7 separate regions of the Homo sapiens genome follow, and regions 1, 3, 4, 5, 6 and 7 are each linked to region 2. Evidence: promoter capture Hi-C in 16 types of primary human blood cells and fetal thymus (Javierre and others, 2016). All regions are on one chromosome and are shown on one strand. Each heading gives the region's core, a stretch centred on a gene start or on the middle of the fragment in contact. The rest is flanking DNA. Distances are from core to core; before and after follow the strand shown. Region 1 has its middle 120 kb from the start of PGBD5. Region 2 holds the start of TAF5L (TATA-box binding protein associated factor 5 like). Region 3 overlaps GALNT2 (polypeptide N-acetylgalactosaminyltransferase 2). Region 4 overlaps GALNT2 (polypeptide N-acetylgalactosaminyltransferase 2). Region 5 overlaps GALNT2 (polypeptide N-acetylgalactosaminyltransferase 2). Region 6 overlaps PGBD5 (piggyBac transposable element derived 5). Region 7 overlaps GALNT2 (polypeptide N-acetylgalactosaminyltransferase 2).

The links. Contacts are between HindIII fragments. The CHiCAGO score rates a contact against its expected background, and 5 or more counts as called.
Region 1: a contact is called between a fragment that was not itself captured here and the fragment with the promoter of TAF5L in region 2, in 12 of 17 cell types (erythroblasts, naive B cells, endothelial precursors and 9 more). The highest score is 13.1, in erythroblasts.
Region 3: a fragment that was not itself captured here is called in contact with the fragment with the promoter of TAF5L in region 2 in 5 of 17 cell types (fetal thymus, megakaryocytes, endothelial precursors and 2 more); the score reaches 11.0 in fetal thymus.
Region 4: a fragment that was not itself captured here is called in contact with the fragment with the promoter of TAF5L in region 2 in 7 of 17 cell types (fetal thymus, total B cells, total CD4 T cells and 4 more); the score reaches 7.7 in fetal thymus.
Region 5: a contact is called between a fragment that was not itself captured here and the fragment with the promoter of TAF5L in region 2, in 8 of 17 cell types (megakaryocytes, M1 macrophages, endothelial precursors and 5 more). The highest score is 9.2, in megakaryocytes.
Region 6: a contact is called between a fragment that was not itself captured here and the fragment with the promoter of TAF5L in region 2, in 1 of 17 cell types (naive B cells). The highest score is 6.3, in naive B cells.
Region 7: a fragment that was not itself captured here is called in contact with the fragment with the promoter of TAF5L in region 2 in 7 of 17 cell types (megakaryocytes, endothelial precursors, M2 macrophages and 4 more); the score reaches 10.4 in megakaryocytes.

What each region holds. Positions count from the first base shown.
Region 1 is chr1:230,300,373-230,303,520 of GRCh38, forward strand. No RefSeq gene overlaps it. Among named protein-coding and RNA genes, the nearest start is that of PGBD5, 120 kb to the right of the region's middle. The HindIII fragment of the contact is 1,425 bases long and covers 702-2,126 here.
Region 2 is chr1:229,624,679-229,627,522 of GRCh38, forward strand. It overlaps TAF5L (TATA-box binding protein associated factor 5 like), which reads right to left and starts at 1,444. Exons shown (of 5, transcript NM_014409.4): 1 at 1,207-1,444. It overlaps URB2 (URB2 ribosome biogenesis homolog), which reads left to right and starts at 1,569. Exons shown (of 10, transcript NM_014777.4): 1 at 1,569-1,678. RefSeq lists enhancers at 353-402, 2,063-2,142 and silencers at 893-1,082, 1,173-1,872. The HindIII fragment of the contact is 3,723 bases long and covers 1-2,844 here.
Region 3 is chr1:230,275,087-230,278,060 of GRCh38, forward strand. The region is part of intron 15 of GALNT2 (polypeptide N-acetylgalactosaminyltransferase 2); the gene reads left to right. Among named protein-coding and RNA genes, the nearest start is that of PGBD5, 150 kb to the right of the region's middle. The HindIII fragment of the contact is 4,857 bases long and covers 1-2,974 here.
Region 4 is chr1:230,167,032-230,170,088 of GRCh38, forward strand. The region is part of intron 1 of GALNT2 (polypeptide N-acetylgalactosaminyltransferase 2); the gene reads left to right. Among named protein-coding and RNA genes, the nearest start is that of GALNT2, 100 kb to the left of the region's middle. The HindIII fragment of the contact is 3,170 bases long and covers 1-3,057 here.
Region 5 is chr1:230,237,046-230,239,793 of GRCh38, forward strand. The region is part of intron 6 of GALNT2 (polypeptide N-acetylgalactosaminyltransferase 2); the gene reads left to right. Among named protein-coding and RNA genes, the nearest start is that of GALNT2, 170 kb to the left of the region's middle. The HindIII fragment of the contact is 3,191 bases long and covers 1-2,748 here.
Region 6 is chr1:230,316,685-230,319,516 of GRCh38, forward strand. PGBD5 (piggyBac transposable element derived 5) reads right to left here. Exons shown (of 7, transcript NM_001258311.2): 7 at 1-2,832. It also overlaps the pseudogene LOC124904587. Among named protein-coding and RNA genes, the nearest start is that of PGBD5, 110 kb to the right of the region's middle. RefSeq lists enhancers at 1-498, 499-998. The HindIII fragment of the contact is 791 bases long and covers 1,132-1,922 here.
Region 7 is chr1:230,255,439-230,258,259 of GRCh38, forward strand. All of the region lies in intron 11 of GALNT2 (polypeptide N-acetylgalactosaminyltransferase 2), which reads left to right. Among named protein-coding and RNA genes, the nearest start is that of PGBD5, 170 kb to the right of the region's middle. RefSeq lists an enhancer at 1-337. The HindIII fragment of the contact is 4,016 bases long and covers 1-2,821 here.

The sequences.
Region 1 (3,148 bases), core at 164-2,663, 680 kb after region 2:
AATTCCTGTTTGCTGTGAAAAGTAACATAGGCTTAGGTCCTGGGGATTAGGAGGTGAGCCTCTTTGTTTCGGGGTCGGGGCTCCTCGTTCTGCCCACCACACCTCCCATTAAGGCTTGCCATCATGATGGGCCATTACTGAAATGAGGGTGTTACCTGGGCAGTCGGGGTTTAAGGCCATCCCCACCACTGCGCACCAGCCCGCTGATCATGAGCACGGTGCTGGTCATAGTTTTTGAGACAGGGAGGTCCTAGAAGGCTCCAACAGCAGGAAAGGTAGGTTTCTCTAGCACTCATGGGTGGATGCCTTAGAAATAAGAGAGAAACAAACAGCCTCTGGGCCTTGAGAGGTTTAGATTTCCCATTTGAAGCAGAGGTGGTGTGGAGGGGAGGGCCGGGGCCAGCACCTGTTCAGAAAATGCATTCCCCAGAGATGGAAGCAGGTGACAGTGTTCTCACATTAGTTGTGCTGAGAGAAAAAGTCCTTCGTTCAGCTGCGCCCAAGGCTTTATTCACAGACTCCCGTCTCTCCCAGGGGTGCTGGAAAGACCTTGGGGACCTCCTCACCCTTCTTGCTGGAAGATGCCCGTACCGCAGCGCACGAGACCCCAGCTTTTCCGGGGCGGCTGCACTGTCAACTCAATGCCTAGCAAGGATGCGTCCGGCTGGGCATAAAGACAGCCCGGCCCGCTAAGCAGAGAAAGCTTCCCCTTCACCACCAGGCTGCTGACAGGTGTGAGTGGGGCAGGGCAGGGAGGAATCACTGAGGCACACCCAGGAAGCCTGACGAGAGGGGCCAAGCTCTGTCCGGACGTGGTGGCTGAGCACCCTGCAGAGGCTCAGTGGCCCTGGCAGCCCCTCGCCTGCTCTCTGGAGGCCTTTGCTCTCTAGTCCCCTCCCTTGAACTCTGAACTTCCACGGGTGAGGGGGGTGATAGAATAATGGCTTTATTTTCCCAGTCTGAAAAAAATAATATAGAAGAAATAACAGCTGGGCCTTCCTCTGCATGGAGTTTCCGCTCCCACGAGCATGTCCGTGTTTAGCATCGGCAGCCACCTGGCCATGCTGGACTCGGTGTGGCTGTGTCTGCAGTCGCATAGACATTTATGGTATTTCCAGTGGCCTGTCAACAGTGCCTGGTGTTCTCTAACAAGTGCTGTGGACTCCAAGGGCCTGACCACCTGCAGGGCTTGAGAACCACAGTTCAAGCAAGGTGAGACAGGGTCGGCAAGGCTGGCCTTGGCGTCTCCACAGGTCAGTTGGTCCTCAGCCAGGCATGCCACCCTGTGGGCTTTGGGGCTGCTTTCCCTCTGGAGTCTAACTCAAAGCCTTTTTTTTTTTTTTTTTTTGAGATAGAGTCTCGCTCTGTCACCCAGGCTGGAGTGCAATGGTGCGATCTCTGCTCAATGCAACCTCTGCCTCCTGGGTTCAAGCGATTCTCCTGCCTCTGTCTCCTGAGTAGCTGAGATTACAGGCACCCGCCACCACACCCTTTTGTATTTTTGGTAGAGGCCAGGGTTTCACCATGTTGGCAGGCTGGTCTTGAACTCCTGACCTCAAGTGATCTGCCTGCCTCAGCCTCCCAAAGTGCTGGGATTACAGGCATGAGTCACCACGCCCAGCCTGGAAGCCTCTAAATGAGCCAGGTGTCCCTGTGTCTTTGAGAGCACTGAGGGCTGGGCTCCAGTGGGCAGGGCAGCCCATCCGCGATGTCAGCACATGGATCTCTGGCTCCTTGTTAGACAGGAGCTCTGTACAGTAGAGTGGCGGGAAGGTCACAGAGCCCTCTCTCTCTACAAGGTCTCTGAGTAAAAAGTGCCTGAAGTGTCCACCTCCAGCACCGCAGCATGCTGGAATTGCCGGCTGTCTCTCGAGTTTCCTTTTAGAACCTTCTCTAGAGCTCTGCGATTCACAGAATGGATTCACAGCTGCTAGAGTGGTAAAACCCATTGCAGATTGTTCAGACGATTAGAAAAAATTCTCTTGTATGGAGCCCAAATTTGCCTCTAATTCTGACCCCTGAGCTATATTGAATTAGTTCAGTCTTCTTCTCATGGCAGGTTCAAATCTTTAAAGCTGATTGGAGACCTCAGCAAGGCCCTTCCAGTTTCCCCACTTCTTTATGGAAGCTTCTTCCCAGTTGGGATGCACCTGAGACAGCCCCTCCTCTAGATCCGGCCTTCTTTACTCACTCCTCCTACAAATCAACTCAGGGGGGGCCATACTTTGAGCTCTGTGCTCTCTCAATTCAAATTGCACTTTTAAGAAGTGACAACAATGACCTCTGAATTTCACGTTGCCTTGTGTATTTTCTAAGTGGTTCCATAGAATGAAAGCAGGTTTTTCCAGGTTGGCTAAAATCTACCTGCAGCCACATCTTAGCCATGTGGTATAATAACTAAAAGTATGGGCCATGGAATCAGGCTGCTTGAATTCACATCCTGGCTTGATCACTTACGAGCTATGTGTTTTTGAGCAAGTTACTTAACCTCTCTGTGCTTCAGTTTTCCATCTGCCAATTAGTGATAATAAGAGTGCCTACCTCAAAGCGTTGTTGTTAGGATTAAATATTTTTAATCCTAAATTAATGTGTGTTAAAGCCTTTAGTAGAATGTGTGGTTCTTAAAAAGTGGCATTAAAACGATGTCAGCTGTTGTTATCCTTAAGCTTCTCTGCAACCCCAGAGTACCCAGAACTGTGTTGAGGACCCACTGTCTCCCAATCAGTAATCATTAACGGGTCCAGATACTGTAGCACCATATGAAAGCACCCGGGTGTCTTAATACAGTATCTAGTCTCAACTTTCATCCTAAGGATGGTGAGTCTGGGGTCACAGTAGACCTCACCATCCATCAAGTTGGCCATCACTTCCTTTGAGGGCAGCCCCTCGAAAACACACGGACAGCTCACCATCTGGTGGACAGATTCACAGCTGCTGGAGTGGTAAAGCTCATTGCAGATTGTTCAGACCATTAGACAAAATTTCCTTGTATGGAGCCCAAATCTGCCTCTAATTCTGACCACTAAACTGTACATCGAATTAGTCCAAGTCCTCTCCTCATGGCAGGTTCGAATCTTTGACACTAAGGAACTCTTCTAAAAGCCCTCGGTGGTGCTCTAAGTGACAAGGCAAGACGAAGTGACTTAAA
Region 2 (2,844 bases), core at 194-2,693:
TTATGCAGATGGCTACATGGTTTCCATCCTAGGTCTACTGTCACCAAGCTCTATCCACTACATTATGCTGTTCCAAAGTTTAAAGATGTGGCCAGATGCATTTAACCTATTAAGCACAAAACTCCCTTTCCTACTCCCCCTTCCAAGTAGAGCTGTGACCAGGAACTGGGGCACAGCCTCCGTGTCCTCCCCTACATCCCCAACTCAGGTGTTGGCACACTTGAATCGCCTGATATAAGACACGCTCCGCACTTAATGTTCCTCTCAGCACAGCTCCCAACTGCTTGTTAGCAGGAGTCACCATTCCGAGATTCCAATCTGCAAGGTCAGTTTAGGTACAGTAATTTAAGACAGACACTGCATGGGACTGGCACTTACCTTCTGATCCCAGAACCACAAAGACTGCGAGATCCGCATTACAACGACTTTCACAACTGATGGGAGAACTGCATGTAGCGTTCCTGCACTCCACTTCCGCTAAGTCTAAAATGACACCACTGTTTCTAACCATCCACTCACTTCGGACCAACGCCTTATCGAATACATTTTCAAAAGCCTGGCAGCTTCGCGAGCTGGAGGTGGTGAACCCGTCCCACACCATGGGCGCACCAACCTTACCTTGCTGTCATGAGGCAACGAGCCCCGAGAGACACCCTTGCAGGTAAGCACTCTCCTGCAGCAGCTAGTCTAACTCTGGCTCCCCCGTGTCACACGCGGAGATCGACTCCACACCCACCCACGCACGATCACCATGTGCAAAGTTGAATCCCGACTTCGCCGCAAAGACATTTCCTTTTCCCCTACATGCAAAGGAGCTGTGGAGCCGTGCTCCCTGCTTGGCTGTCGGGCACTGGGATACCTTCCCCGCGGGCGCCCGCCACCTCCTCCCCGAGCCCGGCATCCAACCCGCAGGACCCACCCCTGCGCAGGAACGCGACGCCAGTCCAGGTGTAGCCGCCGACTGCAGGCCACGCCGCCGGCCGCAGCCCGGGACTCGGGAGGCCGAGGGCGGAGGCGCGGCCGTCGCGCCCGCGCAGAGCCGCCCGCCGCCCCCCAGCCCCGCCTCCCGCGCCCCACCCCCACCGCCCGCCGGCGGGAGCCAAGGCGCGCCCCGCCGAGGCCCCACCGCCCCGGCCCCCGCCCGCCCGCGCGCGCGCGCGCCTCGCGACCCTCCCGGCCCTCCCCGCCCGTGCTCCCGGCACTCACTGAACATCCCAGGCGGCTCCGGCTCCCCCCGCCGCCGCCGCCTCCGGGATCGGGTTGCTTCCGCCTCCGTCGTCTCTGCCGCAGGGTCTCACTCCGACGGCCGGCTCAGCTGGGCCCCCGCGCCCCGCGCCCCGCCGCCCCCGCCGCCGCTCTGGGCGGCCGCTCCATGACTGACTGACACGGAGCGGGCCGCGGGCTGGGCCGCTCGGGCCTCCAACGCGCAACCGTCTCCGCCAATGGGCGAGGCGCCTCGGCGCTCGGCTGGCGACGCCTGGCGTGCGTGCAGCCCCTCCCCGCTGCGCCGCCGGCGTCCGGCGGAAGGAGCGCGGGTACCGGTCCCACGTGGTGGGGACGCGGGACCCGTACAGCGGCCTCCGCCGCACCGGGACAGCAGCCGCCGCCGCTGCCGCCGTCCTCCCCTGTCTACCCGGAGCTGTCTCGAGCTGAGCCCCCTACCGGGCCGGATCCCGAGGTGAGTCCCCCACCTGCGGTCAGCCCCTGCGGGCAGCCAGGTCCCGAGGTGAGTCCCCCCACCCGGGGCTGGTCCAGAGGAGATCCCCCTACCTAAGGCCGGGCCCAGATGGGGGGCCCCCCAACCCTGCCCAGTTCCGGTGCCGCCAGCAGACTCTGGGCTGGAGCGGCTTCGGCACGCTCCATTCGCGAAGGCGAACTCCCTCCTGGCTCCTAGCTGCTCTCCCCTGGTTCTTGTTGCTTGGTCTCTTTCTGCTGGGCAGGGAGTGCTGGCAGGGCTGTGCTGTCCGCCCTGGACTTCGCATTGCCCGGTAAGGGCGGTTGGAGGCCCGGAGAGCCGAACTCTGGCGGAGCCGGGGAGAGCATCTCGGTTGTCTTTGTAGCCAGTTCAGCAAACACCTGTTATGCACTTTGTAGCTGTCGCGATGGCGGTTCTATGGTATTGAACTTAGAAAGTCAGGCATCGTTGAATTCGTTTTGGACATTTTGACAAAATAGGAAAACTGACAGCACTTGACGTTCTTGTTCTCTGCAGTAGAGTGAAGGATAACTTAATTTCTAAAATGAAAACGTCTTAACGTTCCTTTTTACTATAACTTTTAGGAAACTCAAAGCCAAGTTTACCCAGTTTAATAGTAACTGTAGGTGTTTGGTATGTTTGCTACCCCCGAGATTTCATGGTTTTTTGTTTTCTATTTTTAGTCTTTTCCTTGTGCAAGTATCTCTTGTAGAGTCTTTTTTGAAGTGTATGTGCGTTGTAAATTTATACACGACTGAATAAAAGTGTTAGTGGAAGGTTACTGTTGCAGCTGAAATAACTGTATTCCTTTGGGGTTTTCTTTTTCACTTGGAGACATATTACTTTCTCCGGATATTGCTTATGTATCTTTTCCTCTTTCAATTTGAAACCATGTATGAATGACTCTTTCCACAAGTAATGTAATCACTGATTTTGGCCTTGTTGAATTCCTGAACACTCACCTTTGTGGAAGTGATGTTTGATCATAGCTGGAATACATATAGTCCATCTTCTGTGTGTGCAGTCCATCTTTTGCTTGCTTTTGTCTGAATTTCCCCCAGAAAATTCTGGAGTCAAGCATCTTGTATGTAGATTTACCCCGACAAATCTGTTGATTCATTAAAAACTTTTAAAAGAATACATATTAG
Region 3 (2,974 bases), core at 180-2,679, 650 kb after region 2:
ATATATACATGTATACACACCACATATATATACATATATATACACACCACATATACATATATACACACCACATATACATATACCTGCCACATATATACATATATAAACACCACATATATATACATATGCATGCCACATATATGCATATGTAAACACCGCATATATACATATATACACACCACATGTATACGTATATATAGATGCCACATTTATACATATATAAACGCCACATATATATACACACCACATATGTATACATATATATACATGCCACATATACATCTATAAACACCACATGTATACACGCCACATATATACATATGTAAACACCACATATATACACACCACATATATATACACGCCACATATATACATATATACAAACACCACATATATATACATATACACACACACACCACAGATACATACATATATATACATGCCACATAGATATACATATATAAACGCCACATATATATACATATAAACACACCATATATATACATATAGATACATGCTACATTTATATAAACACCACATATATATACGCCACATAGATATACAAGCACAACATATATACATGCCACATGTATACATATGTAAACACCACATATATATACACACCACATATACACACCACATATATATATACAAACACCACATATATATACATATATACATACACCACAGATATATACATATATATACATGCCACATATATATACAAATATACATGCCACATATATACATGTATATACATGCCACATAGATATACATATATAAATGCCACAGATATATACATATATAAACACCACATATATACATAGACACCACAGATACATACATATATACATGCCACATATATATACGTATATATACATGCCACATATATATACGTATATATACATGCCACATATATATACGTATATATACATGCCACATATATATACGTATATACATGCCACATATATATACGTATATATACATGCCACATATATATACATATATAAACACATATATACATATATAGACACCACAGATATATACATATATATACACACCACATATATATACATATATACACACACACACATATACACACAGTTTCTTTAAACATTTCAGAATAGACTTTCTACCTGCCTTGTAAGCCGGTTTTCTCTGACGTATTCCCTTGTGGCAGCTTGTGGACACACCCTTTCTCAAGGCATGGGGTAACAGTTAGTGTCAGGAATAGAAATGCAAGCACAAAAGGTCCTCCCTGTATGCCCATACTTGGAGTGCCTGCCCCTGTTCTTACAGTCGGTCCTTAGAGATAGATGGGATGTAGGGAAACTGAGGCACAGAACCTACTGGAGCCAAGAGCCTAAGCCAGCTTCTAGTCTAACCCTGATTTCACAACAGAAAAGTCTCAGAAAGTCATTGCCTCCACCCTGGAGTCATCTGGGAAGACCAAGGCCAGGACCGAGTCCCCGGTTCTGACCCCAGTTGTCAGGGAGACGCCTGCAGAGGGCCCTCTTTCACCTGTCTGTCTCCAAACCCCTGCGCCAGCTCTGGGTGCTCCTCCTTCCCTGCTCTGCAGAGTCCCAGCCTGTCCTGGCAGTGGGAGCCCCTCTCTAGGGTTCTGCTCACAATCCGCATCTCTAAATGTCCATCTGTGTTGATGACTTGATACCAAAATGTGTAAGGGAGTGCCTGTTAAACAAGAGAAGGCTAGCACCGCTTGGACCCAAACCACCTAGAAATTGCCTCACTCATTGGCCCCTCGAGAGGAAGCTCCTCGAGGGCAAGGCTGGCATCTGCTGAGCCAAGTACTGGGTGAGTCTCAAACACATTCCCCTGGGATGTAACGGAGCAGAGATGTCTTTGGATGTAATGGATTGATAAAGTGATGACTTTAGTTGACACCTTTTTAAAAAACAAATATTACTTCAATATTGCTTAATTTCAAGAATTGACAGGTGTTTCTGCTTCAGTCCCAGTTTTGGGGAACCATAACTGACACGGCTTAGGACCTTTGTGAAGCATGAAAAGACCTATAAATAATAAGTTTTTCTGGATGTATGGCATGTATAAATGGGGATCTGTTAGGTTTTAAACCCCAAGACTCAGGCTATTAGAGAGGATGTGGGGGCTGTTTCAGTAGAGTCTGACTGCCTTGAAAATCTGCGCTCCCCACCCCCAACCACAATCCCATCAGACAGACAGATCAGAGCCCACAAGGCCACCTGTGCGAGACGGAGCTGGGGTTTTGTTGTTGTTTTTCTAAGGTTCTTGATTTAGCTGATGCTTTGACACATGACAGGCAGTCCCTCCAGTGGCCAGAATCAGATTCCGTTCATTCCGAATTCTTTGTTGAGAAGATTCCTGGCTGCTCAGAGTAACAGGGCAGCCTCAATACATACACACTTTACATGACAATGGGGAAAAACAGCATGAGGGGTGATTGACAGCAACGAGGGAGCTGGAAATGAAAGAGGCAATGACAGGCACTTAGCAAAAGCCTCCCCGGCTCCTCTGATTGCACTGTCTTTCCCTGCTGGCAAGAACTCCAGGTGAGCAGGTGGACGGAAATAAGGAAAGCAGGGTACAAGTGACAACATCCTTGTGGTGTTTCGCGCAGGTCGGGTCCCCAGCACTGGGCTCCTCTGCCTGCACCGGCTCCTCCCTGCCTCACTCACTGGCCCCTCAAGAGGAAGCTCCTTAGCAAATTTTATCTTGGAACTGAACTGGCTTTGCCAGTTGGAACATTTGGTTTCCAGGCACGTCCATGTTTTCATATGTTGTGCATATTTGCAGAGTCAAAGGGGAAAGGGAGGCAGGAGTGAGAAAATTTAATTCTGCAATGTCAAAAGGATTTGCAAAAAATACTTAGGTGAAGGAGCTTTCGTGCACACAGTATAAAAAATTAATTAGAACCACAGACTTCATTATTTGAAACGAGCTTTGGGGAAGAAAAAAATGTTACTTTTTTTTT
Region 4 (3,057 bases), core at 321-2,820, 540 kb after region 2:
TTTCCATTTCGTTTGTAACCCTCAGCCCTCTTGGGGCTCTTTGCATATCATTCTGAGACTCTTTTTTTTTTTTCTTGGAGATGCTCTTCAAAACAGAGTCAAGTGTTTTATTTTTTTGGTGGTGGGGGGTGACAGAGGGTCTCTTACTCTGTTGCCCAGGCTGGAGTGCGATGATGCGATCCTGGCTCACTGCAGCCTCAAACTCCTGGGCTCAGGTGATTCTCCTGCCTCAGCCTCCCAAGTAGCTGGGACTACAGCTGTGCATCCCCACACCTGGCTAATTTTTAAAATTTTTTGTAGAAGCAGGGTCTCACCACGTTGCCCAGGCTGGTCTTGAGCTCCTGGGCTCAAGTTGTCCTCCCACCTTGGCCTCCCAAAGTGCTAGGATTACAGTCGTGAGCCACCACTCCCAGCATGGAGCCAGTTCTGACTCAGTGGTTACAGAGCAGGCCTAGGAAGGAACCAGTTGTATGGAAGTTAGGCCCTCATGGGAAGGATTTAACCAGGTGGTCATGGGAGATGGTGGCACCTACTGGTGACAAGGAGCATTGCACTTTAGTTCTGTGAGACCTGCTTGTGGGCTGAGGTGAAGTGGGGAGGAAAGCAGCCTTGCGGGGATATTGACATGGAGGTCAGGGAACTGCCGAGCGTGGAGGAGCGCCGTGGTGATGGGAGGAAGGGGCGGTGGAGCAGCACGGGTGTGAAATGTGCAGGGCTGCAGCCTGGCCGGCTGACGAGGCTGCCTCCTGCTGGCCTCCCTGCGGCTGCTCCACTGTGGCCCTTGGGCCCCGCTCATCACCAAGTGCTGCCTGAGGGCTTCACCTCTCTCCTCCCACCTTTTTTTCTTACCTATTGGCAATGATTATTTTTAAATTTTTAAAATGCAATTGATTTTTACATAAATCACATGGGAAATAATTTTCTAAAATACCCCCCCCTTTTTTTTGTAAAGAGACATTTTCTAGTCCAGTGTGCAGAAATTCTTCATTTTTCTAAAGTAAAAGAACCTGCTTCAGCTGTGGTTGGGAAACCCAGAACAAGAAGTGAGCTGCAGTTGAGAGAGGGCTTTGTGTGCCACCCCCTGACTGGGGAGGCGGTGGACTCGGAGCAAGTGTTAGAAAATGGAGCCATAAAAGACTCCTTAAAGTGTCGGGCGCTCAGCTAACTTAGGGCTAGAATTATATATCATCTCTTAAAGGACCTGCTGTTCTTGCCTTCAGGAATGGGAAGTTATCACCAGGAGCTAAGAGCTGACCTGCTTCATAAACTCTTACTTAGACCTAGGAATGAGGAAAAGCTGCATGCGAGTGGCATCCCTTGTGCTCGCTTTCTCTGGGCTAAAACGTTTAGGATGGTCTGGCAGCTCTTGAAGAGAGGATGGTGGCGTGGAATAGATTCCTCTGAGGCCTTGCCCCTCCTGTCCCCGGAGCTGAGCTGATTATTCTCATTGGAAGATTGGCTTTCGAGCATTTATCAAGAGATTTGTACCTGAGTTTTCTTGAACGAAGAGGGAGGCAAGAGGGCTTAAAATTTCCATTAAAAATGAACAGGCACCCAGGAAATACATGATTGACGGATGTTGGCCCAGGAGTTTTCAGTGTAGTTGCTTTCCCTTTAGGTAAATAGGATTATGCGCACATTTTTGTAATTTTTTACAATTTTATTTTTTTCTAGAACAGTTTTAGACTTACAGAAACATGGGGAACATTGTGCAGAAAGTTCCTATATATATCATACCAAGTTTCCCTGTTATTAAAATCTTACATCAGTATGATTCATTTATTGTAAAGAACCAGTATTGATATGTTATTAACTAAAGTTCTCTCTTTATTCAGATTTTTTACAACATCCCCTTGTGTTCTTTTTCTGTTTTAATATGTTATCCAGAATACCACATTCCAGTTAGTGATTATGTCTTCTTACTGTGACATTTTTTTAGACTTTCCTTTTTTGTTATGACCTTGACGGTTTTGAGGAGGCTTGGTCAGGGATTTTTTAGAATATTCCTCGTCTGGGGTTTGTTTGATGTTTTTTCTCATGATTAGATGAGAGTTATGGGTTTGGGAGAGGAAGACCACAGAAGTAAAATATGCATAAATTTGTAAACAAGTTGTTGAATGAGTTAATTATGGAGAGAAAGGGAAGTTTAGTACCCCTGAATAGTAACTGGAAGAGGAGTAAAGGCTGGACCCCCAGATTGGAAGAAGGCAAGTTTAATGTTCTTAATGATGGGACTTAATGTCTAACTTGTGTCATGCCTTATAGTTCAAAGGGGATGGGATAGAGTGGTTCTTACATTTTCATGTTATATCTTGGGAAACTGAGGCTCAGAGAAGCAGCCTGAGTTGCCTAAGGTCATAGAGATAGACCAGGATTTACTGGATATGCCAGTGCATTTGCAAACTATTCCTAGTTGCATTTTCTATGCCCAGAGGTTCTAGACTCAACTGGCTGGGTCACCGATGGCCATTTCATCTGTGCGTAGCTATAGGGATTTAAATAGGAGGATTTTTGTTAAATGAAGACAATTGACCGACTGTGCGTGGAATCAATGTGCAGGATGATTCACCAGGCTTTCTGCCTGTTAGAGAAGTTAAATGGTTGAGAATTAATAATTATGCGATTGTAGTTCACGACTTCAGCACAAGTCATTGTTACAGTTCTCAAATGTTGAGCAGCCCCACGTTATTCCCCACCAGTGTGTTTTTCTCTGAGGTTACACAGTAAAATAAGTGAAGTGCTGACCTTTATCATAACATATTTTTTATTTGTGAGCAAGTGGAGTATGTATAAAGCAGTTTGTGACTTTGAATCCAAAATAGAAATTTGCCCTCCTCTCATTTTCGCAGCATTGAGTTTCATAAACTAAGTTGGAGCAGTGAAAGTGAAACTGGAAATGCATGGATGAAGCCAGTGGTTCTGAACACTGAGAACTGCCTGGGAGCTTCTAGAAAAACCCCCAAGGCTGGGTCCCATTCCCTAAAGTTGTAATTATATTGGCCAGGGCAGGAACAGGCCTTGGGAAATCCAAAACTTGGCCTTTCTGTCTTGTTCCTC
Region 5 (2,748 bases), core at 196-2,695, 610 kb after region 2:
GCAATAAGAAGTTGAATGACTCCATGCTCCAGGCATCTGATAAAATAACCGGGATTCAAGTTTGACAGCCTGCTGAAGGTGAACCATCCAAAATGGGGAGACAGTACTGCAATTATATGCTCATGCGATTTTGCAAATGCCAACCTCGGAACCTTCTGTCAGTCTTATCTGTGCTGGAGCTGAGCTCATGAGGACTCTTTTATTGGCAGTTAGAAGAGAGGCTGTAAAGGAGGAAAGTAGTACACTGGAGTGTCTGGGAAGGAAGCTCCAATCACAATGTAATTAACATCCAGTGTGTCAGTGCTGTTAGAGACCCTGAAGACTGAATTGTTAGGCTCCTCCATGGTTGGGAGAAATCTTTCAGTATAGGAAAATCACAGAGCTTTGGAACCCATGCCACATTTGCTATTTAAGTCTGACTGTTGATCCAGGGGTGGTGATTGTATTCCTTCATCAGTGTAAAACTCTTTCTTCTCATTACATATGCACTCCAGCTGGAGTCAAGGAGTGAAGTTTTTCTTACCAGGAATCTTATTGGCCAACACAGTGATTGAGCCTGTTAGAACAGCATCATATTTTAACCAACTAGGGTCATCAACCTAGACATTCAAGATACATAAACAGTGGGATAAGCCTTGCCTTCTAAACAAGCTGTTTGCCAGACTCACATCAGTCCACCAAGCCTGGAATAAACCAAAAAGGGGGCAATTTGCTGCCCCCTAAACACCTTCAAAATAACTTTATGAATTTAAACCCAAAGTATCTGCCATCCTACCCCATCACCTGGCACAGGCTTTAAAAAAAAAAAAAAAGAGAAGTGGGGAAGGAGGAAAGAGAGATAGTGTTGGCACTGTAAATCACTTATGAGCCTTATCTAACAGTGTCTTTGTCTTTAAACTGCTTAGAAATCAGAACAATGCTTCTCAGTATTAACTTTCCGCTAGAATGTTCATTTCGGTTGAACCCGTGCTGATACGTTGTTTCGGGGAAGGCATGAGAAGGGTGGGTTGGGAGAAGCCAGATTATGGAAAGCCTATATGGAACAGCTGAAGTCTGTAACAATTGAATGAGAAAATATGTGCACACTTGCACACACACTCATGTATATATGTACCCATGTGTGTGTATAAGATCCCATCTATGTAAGCATACACACAAAGTGCTTGTAGTGATGCTACTAGATGACAAAGTAAATTAATTGCCTAAAATATTATGGTAGTGAAAGCAGTCTTAGGATCATTCTTCTGTGGATTTTATTGTGCATTGATTCTTAACCTAGCAATTTATTAGAAGCACCTAGGGAATTTAGGACCATGTCTTGCCCTCATTCACAATTAAATAGAAATTTCTGGATTTCTCTGGGTGGGGTGTGGGCAGCTGCATTTTTAAAAGCTGCTAAAATGATGCCGATGTACAGTGGAAGTTGAGAGCCTAGTACTTTCATTTTACAGATGGAAATACTAAATCTAAAGAGGCTAGGTGGCTTTCTCAAGGCCCTTACAGCTATTTAATGACAATAGTAGGACCAAAACCATGTTAATAATGAGATAAATCTTTTTCTCTGCATTTGTGGAGATAGTCAAGTGGTATTTCTTTTTTTAATCTGTTAATATGGTGAAATACATTGGTTGATTTTCAGATGTTAAACCAGCTTTGCATTCCTAGCATAAGCCCCAGTTGGTCATGATACAGTATCCTTTTAATATATTTTTGTTAAGGATTTTTATACCTGTGTTCATGGGAAACATTGGTCTGTAATTTTCTTAAAATGTATTTTTCCAGTTTTGGCATTATGGTTTACTAGCCTTATAAAACAAGATGGAAAGTGTGCCCTTCTATTTTATTTTCTAAAAGAGTTTGTATAATATTTTAATTATTTCTTTTTTAAATGTTTAATAGAATTAGCCAGTCTGGACCAAGAATTTTCTTTATGGAAAGATTTTTGATAACTAATTCAATCTCTTTAATGGATATAGGCGTATTCAGATCTGCTGTTTCTTTTTGTGTCTGTTTCAAGAAATTTTGTATTTTATCAACGTTTTTATATTTATTGGCTCAAAGTTGCTTATGATATTGTCTCTTTTTTTACTGTTTGTCGGATTAGTATTACTATTTTATTGATTTTGGTAATTTATATCTTCTTATTTTCTTTATCTGTCTGCTGTTCATCGACGCTGTTCATTTTTTAAAAGAACCAATATTTGGCTTTTGTATTAGGATTCTCCAAAAGGACAGAACTAATAGGATAGATGTATATATAAACAGGAGTTTATTAAGGAATATTGACTCACACAATCACAAGGTGAAGCCCCACAATAGGCCATCTGCAGCCGAGGAGCAGGGAAGCCAGTCCAAGTCCCAAAACCTCAAAAGTGGGGAAGCTGACAGTTCAGCCTTCAGTCAGTGGTTGAATGTCCAATAGTCCCAAAGCTGAAGAACTTGGAGTCCAATGTTCAAGGGCAGGAAGCATCCAGCGTGGAAGAAAGATGTAGGCCGGGGGAGACCAAGCCAGTCCAGTCTCTCTACATCCTTCTGTCTGCTTTTATTCTGGCCGTGCTGGCAGCTGATTAGATTGTGCCCACCCAGATTGAGGGTAGTTCATTTACATGTGGCGTAATCATTGGTGTGACTAGGTTTGGGTCTGCTCTTCGGCTGTTTCTTCTCTATTTGTACCATGTGCATTTTGCTTTTTGTAACTGTGTTCCTGCTTTCTTGCCTTCTTTTGGATTCAGTGATTTTTTTAGTATT
Region 6 (2,832 bases), core at 277-2,776, 690 kb after region 2:
AACAAGGAACCCTCACATGGATCGTCAGGCTGGAGGAGTAGGTGGGCACCATACTTCCTTGGAGAAAACAGAAGCAAGCATAAGACACTGTGGAAATGAAAGGAATAAACTTATTCATGTTTAAGAGCTAGAGCCTTCCTTTTGGCTTGGGCATGACCTCTCGGATAGCTGGGAACACCGTCCCTGCTCATGTTTGGGGCGTGCTCCCCAGATACACACACGCATACCTGGCTCTCAGGGCAAGTTGCAGGTTGGCAAGTCCTGGTCAAATGCAGTGTGACTGCAGCCTCTTGAGGAGGCTCAGACTCTTGTGTTTGCAGGGATGTGCTAAGCCAGGTGCATGTGATGCCTGCCAAGCAAGGTGGAGGGTCTGGGGGTTGCTGAGTCCAGCAGCAATGGTGACTGCCACCTCCCCCACACGGGGTCTCGGCCTCTGGCTGGAGCCTTCTTTCGGCGGAGAATCAGCCTGCTCTGTGCCCCCAACGTGTTTCAGTCATGGCACCCTCAAGGGCACAGACCACGTTGGGGTAACACGTGCCCAGTTCTTAGCACAATGCCTGGCCTGTAGCAGTTCAGAAGCAGCAGTGGCTGAGAACCAGGAAGCCCTGGAGCAGACAGAGTGAGGGTCAACCTGGCTCCACACCCTGTAGAGTCACCACGGCTCTCAGAGTGTCACTTTCCCATCACAAAAGGGGGACCGATGGTTGTCAGCTCCCAGGGCAATGCTGAGGACTCAGCAAAGGAACCATACAGGGAGACGTGACCTGCTGGAACAGAAATGCTCCATGTGCATTAACTGTCACTCTTTAGTCCAGCGAGGCTTGGGTGAAGACGGCAGAAGAATGAATCAAAGACTAGCGAGACGCACCAAGAACAGAGGTGCGCTGCCGGGGGCTGACCCTTGGGGAGGGGAGGGCCGAGGCTGATTTATCTGGCGGGCTCAGCCTCACCCTTCACTCCTCACTGAATTTCCTTGGCCATAAAGTGCCCCTTCCACCTGAGGGAGCCAGGAGGCTTGACACGTGAGGGAAGCCGCACACACTCCTCCATCGTCTTCCTAGGTCTTTCACACAAGCCGATGTCCTCCCCGCCCTTTCTGTTTTCATCTCCAAATACATGCACACAAGGTCAAGCTTCCAGGCAACTAAGGAAAAAACCTGAAGAATAGTATCTGCTTGTAGAGTAGCTAGTGACATGGAGCGCACAATCAAGTCTCCCGCAGGAGTCTCCTCATTACGACCGTGTATACATGGGTATACACGGAAGGGTGAAGGTGCCCCACCCTCCCCGGAACACAGTTCACACAGAGCTGCCACCAGCGCCAGCACCACCGCCCTACACTCAAGAGAGGCTGCCCGGCCCCCACCAGACAGGGGTCAGAGCTAGGAGAATGTGCCTGGGCTGCTGGAGAACTGGGGTGCGCACTGGGCACCCCAGGGAGGGAGGGACACAGAGATGGCTAAATGGCAGCGAGCTGCGTGGCCAGAGGGCATGCTTACTCTCTGGTGCTATTTTATGGCAACAGCTCTAAGTGCCACTTTGGTACCTGATACTCTTTATTTCTTATTGGGAGAGAATAACATACCTGCAAAGAAGGCTGAGAAATATTCTCGAAGATGAGACACACAGAAGCCACGGAGAAAAAGGGATTAAGTGATGGAGTCAAAAGTGAGAAGCCTCAGTCATGTTCCTGATAAGAACGGAAGGTATTTGGGCAGACAGCCAAGCCCGCATTGACTGACACAGGGCCGTAACAGGAGAGATTTCTTCACAGACAGAACTGTTTTCCAAAGCAAGCTGCAGAGGCCACCGGTGGGGAGGGGGCACTGGGGACACTTTCCCTGGCCACTACCTTGTGAACTTCTGGGGACTTCTTTCGTTTGGAACTCCCACTACACAAGGCTAAGGCTTTCCACAGCCAAAGCTTGGCAAGCCCTCGCTTAAGGAAGAGGGACCAGAACCACAAAGCTGGCATGTGGGTGAAGACGGCGCCTCTGGCCTAGATCCCAGGGCACTCTGATGAGACCCCACAGCTGGCTCCACTCCCCCACCCCATCCCACTCTCCCCATACTGTGAGCTGGGGCCATCTGGGTGAGGAAATCGCTATGGTTCTTTCTGGCTCAGGGTCTGGTGTGGCCAAGGGCTTGCCCTGTCCAAATGCCCCCCAGAATAGTGGCTCCCTACCAGGCTAACTTCAGCTTCAGTAGTTGTTAAGCTCCAAAACACCCATCTCCATCTAGGACAAGAAAAGGACCCAGGGGGAGGGTGATGTCCCGGATCTCATAATGATTGTTTTCAGTATTCGGATCAGCAGAGAGGATTGGATATGGAAAGGAGAAAATCCCCCACAAAGTTGTCAGGTAAGTCAGGGATAAAATCCCCCGTCCTCGTGATGAATCAGGACAGCCAGTGCCCACAGCAGTTAGGACGCGGCCTCCTGCGTCAGGCAAACCCGGGTCTGCTTACCTGGGCGAACCATTGCACCACTCCATCTGGGCGTGGTGACAGTCCATGCCTAACCCACAGGGATCCCTGTGAGGAGTAAGGCTCTGGGGCAGAAGGGCCACCCCAAGCCGCCTGGAAGTGTGCCTGCCTGTTAGCCACCGCTGTCATACCTTTCAAACACAGCACCTGCGAGGATGCAGGAGACAGATCTGGGAGGTACCACACCCAAGGTCACCTTTCTCCCCCATCAGTGTCGTTGACTTGTTCTCGCCCCAATCCCAGGCAAGTGGGGAAATGTTTTTTTTTTGCCATGAATGCAGACTGGAGGAGAATGTGTGAGGCTTGCGTAGTTGCAAGGCCCCATGGCCCTCCCGGGTTTGCCCTGC
Region 7 (2,821 bases), core at 51-2,550, 630 kb after region 2:
GTGGGTGTGGTGCATTTATACAATGGAATACCACTTAGCAATTGAAAGGCGCATTCCACGGATGCAGGATACAACCTGGGCGCCTTTCCAGGGCATGATGCTGAGTGAGAGAAGCAGTTACATACATGATTCCACTCATGTCACAGCCTCATAAAAACACAGCTTTAGGGATGGGGCCAGACCAGTGGTGGCCAGGAGCTGTGATGGCAGGAAAGCGGGGAGTGTGACTGCAGAGGGGCAGCACCAGGGATGTTTGGAGGAGGGACGGAGCTGTTCTGTCTCCTGGTTGTGGTGGTAGTTGGACAAATCTTCATGAGTGTGAAGGCTCTTAGAACTGTACACCACCCCCCAAAATGTTATGGGAAAATTTTTTAAAGAAGAAAGTTCATTTTATAACCATTCAAGGTGCAATTAAAAGCAACATTGTCTTAGTCCATTTTATGCGTCTCTAACCAAATACCACAGACTGGGTAATTTAAAATGAACAGAAATTTATCTACTCATAGTTCTGGAGGCTGAGAAGTCCAAGATCAAGGTGCTGGTGTCTGGCGAGGGTCTTCTTGATGTGTCATCACATGGTGGGAGGGCAAAGAGAGGGCAGGAAAGAGCAAGAGGGGGCCAAATTCTCCCTTTTATAATAGCATCAATCCCCCCCATGAGAGTGGAGCCCTCATGGCATAGTCACTTCTTAAAGGTCACCTCTTAAAGGCCTCACCTCGGCTGGGCATGGTGGCTCATGTCTGTAATCCCAGCGTTGCGGGAGGCCGAGATGGGCAGATCACCTGAGTTTGGGCAGATCAGGAGTTTGAGACCAGCCTGGCCAACATGGAAACCGCATCTCTACTAAAAATACAAAAATTAACCGGGCATAGTGGCAGGCGCCTATAATCCCAGCTACTCGGGAGGCTGAGGCAGGAAAATCGCTTGAACTCGGGAGGTGGAGTTTGCAGTGGGCCAAGATCGTGCCTCTGCACTCCAACCTGGGCAACAGAGCGAGACTCTGTCTCAAAAAAAAAAAAAAAAGCCTCACCTCTTAATACTGTTATAATGGCAATTAAAGTTTAACATGAGTTTTGGAGGGAACAAACATTCAAACCATAGCAAATATTAAAGTCAAGCTGTACTAATTGTGTATACCACAAGACATCGTGACACAGAGTCACGATTCTTGATGGAGAGTAGATATATTTTAGTAAACATGAAGATGCCAACGGAAGGGCTTTCCGAAAGTAAAATAGCAAATAGCCGTTCTATCAAGCCAAGTGTCCTTCTAGGGAATTCTCTTACATGCTAAAGATAGAACAGCGTACAAGCCAGATCTCAGGGAGATTGCCTTCTCTTGAGTGTAGACAGCAAAACACACAGCTAAATAAGGTATTTTCAAATAGTAATCAATGCTGTGAAGAAGGTAAGATGCAGTCATGTGGTCGGGCATGATTAGGACAAGCAGTAGGAGAGGTTTTCATGGTCAAGAGAACCTTTGAGGAGGTGTTATGTGAGTTCAGACTTGAAAGGTGGGAGGAGGTCCCTCTGGGACCCCGAGGAATCAGACTACCTGCAGGAGGAGCAGATCCAGGCTGCTGAGGTGCGTTTGGCATATCAGCCAAATGGAAGCCAAGGGTAGCTGGAACCTAGAGAGTAAGGGGACAGTGCACAGGGGCAGAAGAGCTAGACAGGCCCGGGCCATGCACCTTTGCAGGTCATGGGAAACGTTGGATGTTATTTGATTCTGAAGGAAAACACTGGGGCTTTTCAGCAGTGCCTGATGTCTGTTTTATGCTTTGGAAAGGTCCGTATGGTTGCTGGGCAGAGGGTGGCCAGGTGGTGACCCTATGGTGAAACAATGGTACGAGTGCCCCCTCCACTCTTGGAGCCAGAAGCAAGGGTCCTGTGAGCACTGTTGCAGTAGCCCAGGCCAGAGATGTGATACAGTCATGCACCTGTAACAGCGTTTCGGTCGGTGACAGTAGTCCCATAAGATTATAATACCGTGTGTTTACTCTACCTTTTCTTTGTTTAGATACACAAATACTTACCATTGTGTTACAGTTTCCTCCAGTGTTCAGGACAGTCATGTGCTCTACACGTTTGTAGCCTAGAAGCAATAGGCTGTACCATGTAGCCTAGGTGTATATTAAGGATACACCATCTAGGTTTGTGTAAATATACTCTATGATGTTCACACAACGACAACATCGCCTAAGGATGCATTTTTCAGGTTGTATCCCTCTCATTAAGCAGCACCTGGCTGTACCTGGAGCAGGTGTGTAGCAGTGGAGATGGGGTGAGATCCAGCTCCATGGTGAAGCAGGCAGCTGTTTGCTAATAGGGCGGCAGAGAGAAGGGAGGTAGAGCGGGAAATTAATTTAGGGTGATGCCCAGGAGCTTTGTTACACAACTGCGCTGGCGTGCTGCCCCTACAGAAATAGGGAAAGCCTTGGGGTGGGTGTGGGTGTGGGGATTGCTAGCTTATCTTTTGTCTAGTTTTTTTCTTGAGACAGAGTCTTGCTCTGTTGCCCAGGCTGGAGTGCAAAGGTGCGATCTCGGCTCACTGCAACCTCCACTTCCCAGATTCAAGAGATTCTCCTGTCTCAGCCTCCCAAGTACCTGGGCTTACAGGCATGTGCCACCATGCCCGGCTAATTTTTGTATTTTTAGTAGAGACAGGGTTTCACCATGTTGGCCAGGCTGGTCTCAAACTCCTGACCTCAGGTGATCTGCCCACCTCGGCCTCCCAAAGTGCTGGGATTACAGGCGTGAGCCACCGTGCCCAGCCATTTTTAAACTTTTTGGTTTTTTTTCTTTTTTGAGACGGAGTTTC